2 separate regions of the Homo sapiens genome follow, and region 1 is linked to region 2. The links are contacts of gene promoters, found by promoter capture Hi-C in blood cells and fetal thymus (Javierre and others, 2016). All regions are on one chromosome and are shown on one strand. Each heading gives the region's core, a stretch centred on a gene start or on the middle of the fragment in contact. The rest is flanking DNA. Distances are from core to core; before and after follow the strand shown. Region 1 overlaps ZBTB17 (zinc finger and BTB domain containing 17). Region 2 holds the start of PLEKHM2 (pleckstrin homology and RUN domain containing M2).

Evidence for each region. The method cuts DNA at HindIII sites, captures the fragments that hold promoters and counts their contacts. A CHiCAGO score of 5 or more calls a contact.
Region 1: a fragment that was not itself captured here is called in contact with the fragment with the promoter of PLEKHM2 in region 2 in 1 of 17 cell types (monocytes); the score reaches 5.8 in monocytes.

What each region holds. Positions count from the first base shown.
Region 1 is chr1:15,951,727-15,954,426 of GRCh38, forward strand. The region is part of intron 2 of ZBTB17 (zinc finger and BTB domain containing 17); the gene reads right to left. It overlaps LOC124903855 (a long non-coding RNA gene), which reads left to right. Exons shown (of 3, transcript XR_007065486.1): 2 at 544-1,319; 3 at 1,835-2,700. Among named protein-coding and RNA genes, the nearest start is that of ZBTB17, 23 kb to the right of the region's middle. RefSeq lists an enhancer at 670-1,869. The HindIII fragment of the contact is 1,463 bases long and covers 578-2,040 here.
Region 2 is chr1:15,683,024-15,685,723 of GRCh38, forward strand. It overlaps PLEKHM2 (pleckstrin homology and RUN domain containing M2), which reads left to right and starts at 1,297. Exons shown (of 20, transcript NM_015164.4): 1 at 1,297-1,595. The coding sequence starts at 1,536. RefSeq lists silencers at 1,151-1,230, 1,321-1,400, 1,921-1,990 and an enhancer at 2,221-2,280. The HindIII fragment of the contact is 15,543 bases long and covers 1-2,700 here.

The DNA.
Region 1 (2,700 bases), core at 59-2,558, 270 kb after region 2:
TTATCTATTCCTCAGCGACAGGAACCCAGCAGGACGGCCAGGCTTGGAGGGACATAGGAAAAGGGTTTGGGAGCGAAGGGGTGTGCAGGTCCTAGGAACATATCCCCTCCTAAGTACGTGCTAGGAGGTGCTGTCTGGGGAGACGTTAACCACAGTAATCAGATCAACAGCCAGCTGCTCCCCATCGCCCCCAGATGTGCGGGAACACAGGGTGAAGAAATACTGTTCCCACCAGGCAGCCTGCCCCACCCCACCCTTGGAATACGGTGCCCATCGCTCAAGCACAAGTGTCAAGGTCTGTGGTCTTGTCTTCACCTTGCGTGATGGGCGATAAATATGTGCACTAGTTAAAGCAACTTCTAAGGAAGATCCTAAAACCTTAGAACCATAGAAAATGCCAACAGAACGAGACCACAGAGCCCAGCAGCCCAGAGTCCTCATTTTAGATGCAGACTGACCTGACCCCCACTCACAAAGTCTTAGCTGCAATCGGGCACCTTTTCCCAACACCTCTAGTCACTCAGTTTTTCTCCCTCACCTCAGGTGTCAGAGCTGGGATGCTGTCCTGATGACCAAAAGCTTAGGTGGACACAGAGCCCTGGGCTCCCTCACGAGGAATTCACTGGGGAACAAAAAAGTGAGGCACTGAGGACACCTGCAGTGTGAGTCCGGACAGGCACACTGACACAGCGGAACAGACGCGGCAGAACCGACACGGCGGAACGGACGCGGATGATGCAGAGCCCCTCTCAGGATGGCCAGCCATTCCTCCCCTGCCAGGGCCCACCACGCCTCCCATGGAGAGACGGTGTCTGTTTCCCTCCTGTCGGAATCTGGATGGCCCAGAGACGACTCTGACATCAGGATGCTGGGACTGTGCCAATTCCAGACCTAAACCTAAAGAAGCCTGGAAGATTCTGCTGTGGCTCCTGGGAATCCAGTCACCGAGCTGGAGGAAAGTCCAAGCTCCCGTGTGAGTGGGAGACACATGGAGGGGCTCTGGGGAGAGGGCACATGGAGAAGAGCAGAGAGGCCACTGACAGCACCAATGCTCTGTGGCGAGGGACACACTTTCCTGGACCTCCCAGCCCAGCTGTGCGCTGCTGCACGCACGGCCTCAACCAACACCTCGGGGAGCAAGCGACTGCCTGTCCACCCATCCAACTAAGAAAGACTGACTCACCGATGACTTATGCCACTGGGTTTTGGGGTGCTGTGCTGTGCAGCAGGAGATAACTGAGACGGACGGTAAAACCAGGAAGAAAAGGAAGTGATTCAGCCAAAGGTTCAGGATGACGGTTCTCTCTGGATGGGGGAGGGTAAGCAGGGGACTTCTGAGATCCTAGAAGAGTTCTCTTTCTTTACTTGGAGTCCCCTGGATTTATTACTTAAACTAAATGTGTATATTTCATATACATTTACATGAAAACATTCCAATTATTTAAAAAAATGTATTTTTTTTTTTTTGTAGAAGCAGGATTTCACCATGTTGCCCAGGCTGGTCTCAAACTCCTGGGCTCAAGCAATCTGCCTACCTTGGCCTTCTAAAGTGCTGGGATTACAGGCGTGTGCTACTGCACCCAGCCATTTTTCAAAAATTTTAATAAGAAAAAAGTGAGGTTCAGTTGCCAGACTTGATCCAGTCATGGCACAGAGTGTGCTGGCCAAGGCTGGGTTGCTCCCAACCACACTCCCGGCCATGCTCACCAGGGCTGCCTTGAGGCCCAGCGTGGCAGCGAGGGTCAGAGGAGCTAAGAGAGCCGCCAAGGCTCCTGCGGGTGGGATTTGGAAGGGCTGGCCCCAGAAAGCACAACCCATTGCATCTGTCTTGCAGTCCCAAAGCACCACAGACTGCTGAGTAAGCCAGGTTTCTGTTTGGGCCGTGAAATCCACTCTGGTGCCAAGTTCCATACTGCTGCCTCCACGACGCAGGGATTCCAGTGGCGGCTGAGCCCCATGGAAGCAGCAGAGCCTCCCGGGACAGGCCAAGCAGGACCTGGATCTGGGTTCCACCAGCCACCCGCAGGTGATCTCCAGCAAAGCTTCTCCAATGGCCAACAGGGCTAATGGTATGACTTCCTTTGTGACAGGATTAAATTAAGTAACATAGGTCAAGACCCTGTACAGAGCCTGGCATATCGTGAGCATGCAACAAACTACTGTTGCCAGGAAGCAGAGATGCAGATGATAGTTTCATTTTTTTAGGCCAAAGTCTTTATCAGATGGTTTCTATATACCCCTTTGCACTGGGCACATGGGGTACTTGACCTTGTTAAGAGGTGTAATCATAACCCATCACTCCTAAATGCAATCTGGAAGAATTCCAGAGCACAATTAGCATGAAGACAGGGAGGAAGTGATGGGAGGGGCACTGAGTGGAGAGACATCTAGAGCTATTGTCTCTGCCAGGAGGCACTTTATATTGAACAACTGTTCTGTTAAACCCCAAGAGTGCTCCCAGACAAAGGCTGGAGTGCATGCCCAGAGTGCTAAGTGGCCCCAGAGAGCACAGCTCCATGTCAGAGTCAAATGGGCACCTGTCAAACATGAAATGTTACCCAGGTTATTAGTATGCACTAAACTACCTGCAGGGTTTCCAAACTGCCACAAAGGGAAGCCATTAAGCCAGGAAGCAACTGGCCTACCATAGGGAGACACTGATCTTTACAAACAACAGTCCCCGGCTCCCAGAACAAGCTG
Region 2 (2,700 bases), core at 47-2,546:
GAGTTGAGGCCCTTGGGATACGTGGGGCTGAAGAAGAGGGATAAGGATAAGGAGTGGGAATGGGGCATTGGGGCTGAAGGTGAGGAGGGTGTGTTTTGGGGGTGGGGAGGAACACCAGGGACCTCAAATGTAGGACTGGGCCTTGAGGGTGAGGCACTGAGGAGGGGAGGCTGTGGAGGGCCAGGGGGCCCAGGGAGGGTCTAGGGCTGGGGACTGGAGTCTAGGCTGACCCGGTGGGGGTGCTGGGTCCTCCAGGCTGCGAAAGCCAGGGGGCCTGGGTCTGCACATTGAGGGGGTGGCTGGGCTAAGGAAGGGGAGGAAGATAAGTGGGGCTTGCAGGCTAAGAGGGTCTTGGGGTCCCTGGCCAGAGTTAGTGGGGTGCACTGGGGTCTCCAAGGAGGGGTCTGTGGACTAAAGAGGGCCGGCGGGAGGGGGCCCAGGGTCTGTGGGTGTCTCGAGTCTCTGAGGAGGGCCGGGGTCTCAGGGTCTGTGGGGGTCTCTGGCCTGTGGGGTCGGAGTCTCCAGAGTCCTTGGGGCCTGTGGGAGTCTCTGGGGTTTTGTGGGGGGATCCTGTGGGCTGAGGAGGGCTGTGGGGAGGGTCTCAGGGTCTCTGGGGAGGGCCAGTGCCTCGGGGTCTTTGGGGGTCTCTGAGGAGGGCTGGGGGCCCAGGGTCTGTGGGGGTCCCCAGCAGGTGGGGTTGGGGTCTCCGGAGTCCCTGGAGTCTGAGGGTGTCTCTGAGGTCCCAGGGGGGAGTCTATGGCCTGAGGGCTGAGGGGGAGGGTCTCCAGGGTCTCTGAGGAGGGCCGGTGTCCCGGGCAGGCGGGGTCGGGGTCTCCGGAGTTCCTGGGGTCTGAGGGTGTCTCTGGGGTCCCTGAGGGAATCTGTGGGCTGACGAGGCCTGGGGGAGGGTCTCCGAGGAGGGCCGGGGTCCCAGGGTCTGTGGGGGTCTCTGGCAGGCGGGGTCGGGGTGTCCGGAGTCCCTGGGGTCTGAGGGTGTCTCTGGGGTCCCTGAAGGAATCTGTGGGCTGAGGAGGGCTTGGGGAGGGTCTCTGAGGAGCCCCGAGGTCCCCGGCAGGCGGGGTCGAGGTCTCTGGCGTCCCTGGGGTCTGAGGGTGTCTCTGGGGTGCCGGGGAGAGTCTGTGACTTGAGGAGGGCTGGGGGCGGGTCTCGGGGTCTCTGGGGAGGGCCGCGGCCAAGGGTCTGTGCGGGTCTCCGGGTCCCCGGAGTCCCCAGGCGCAGGCGGGCCCTGGCGCCGCCCCGCCTGACATCAGTTCCTGCCGCCGCCGCCGCCGCGGCGCACAGCCCGCGGCCTCCTTCCCCGCCGGCCGCGCTCCGGAGCCTCCGGGCCGCGGTGGAGCGAGGGCCCAGGCGAGGCGAGGGCCGGGCGGCGGGCGCCGGGCCCCGCGGCCGGCACGACGGAGCCCCCGTACGGCCGGCGGCAGCGGTTGGCGGCGGCCCCCGGCCCCCGGCGCGGGAAGCGGCGGCGGGGCGGCGGCGGCGGTGGCGGTGGCGGTGGCGGCGACGGTGGCAGCGCCATGGAGCCGGGGGAGGTGAAGGACCGGATCCTGGAGAACATCTCGCTGTCGGTGAAGAAGGTGAGCGCGGCCTCCCTCCCGGCCGGGGCCCCTTCCTCGCCGCGCCCCCCACGCCCTCCGGCGGCGCTCTCCCGGGCCGGGGCCCCCCGCCCTTCCCCTCCGCGACCCGGGGGGCGACGAGCGGCCGGGAGCCCCGGGCCGGTAGAGGGGAAGCGGCGCCGCTCACGTGAGCGCCGCGGCCTCGGAGCTATTTTTAAAGAACAAAGTTGAGGTCAGCATCCTCGGAGCTTCCCCAAACCTGGCCCGGGGCCCTGCCCTCCCGGAGAGGGGTCAGCGACCCTCCGGTCCCCCACTGGGGCAGCGGCGCCCCCGGGAGCTCCTGAAGGAACCCCATGCAGCCTCCTGTGGAATCCGCTGCATCCCCGGGTCCCCCCGCCAGGCTGGCGTCGCCCAGGGTCTGGCAGTCAGGGTGGAGGCCAGTGATAAGCAACTTCACTTTCCCATGGCCTGGGTCCCGGCGACATTGCCTCTGCTCCTGGGAAGTCCCCTGAATAATCTTGCTCAAGGATGGTAGCTTTGAAGAGGTTCACTAGGGGCTTTGATTATAAGAACCTGAAGTACATGGGGATTGCATTTTGGATGCTGATCCGGGGAACCGGGTGACACCACAGACACCTTGCTGTGGGGCTTGCCGCAGTAAACATCACTGTCCCAATTCCAGGTAGAAATGAGTACATACCTGTCAAGGGCATGTATTTGTGATGAAGTTGGCATATCCGCAAAAGGGTCCGTGCTAGAAGGTAGAATCCATATTCTGACGTTTTTGGGCTGGATATAAAAATAATAATAATAAATTTAAAAGAATCCATATTCACTGAAAACCTAAATGGCCAAATCAGAATGGATTTTTCTCTCTCTCTCCCTCTCTGTGTGTGTGTTTGTGTAATTTGAATTCCTGGCTCACCAGATAGTCTCAGAAACTGAAAAAAAAAAAAAAAAAAAGAAAGAAAGAAAGAAAAAAGAGAAAGAAAATGGCTTGGGTGAGGGACTCAGCAGCTTATTTTACTTGAAGAAGCAAAATGGATAGAATTAATTAGATCAACCATCATATTTAAATAATTGTCTGTTTTCCCACTGAGATTCCTCAAAAGCAACACAGGCAAGC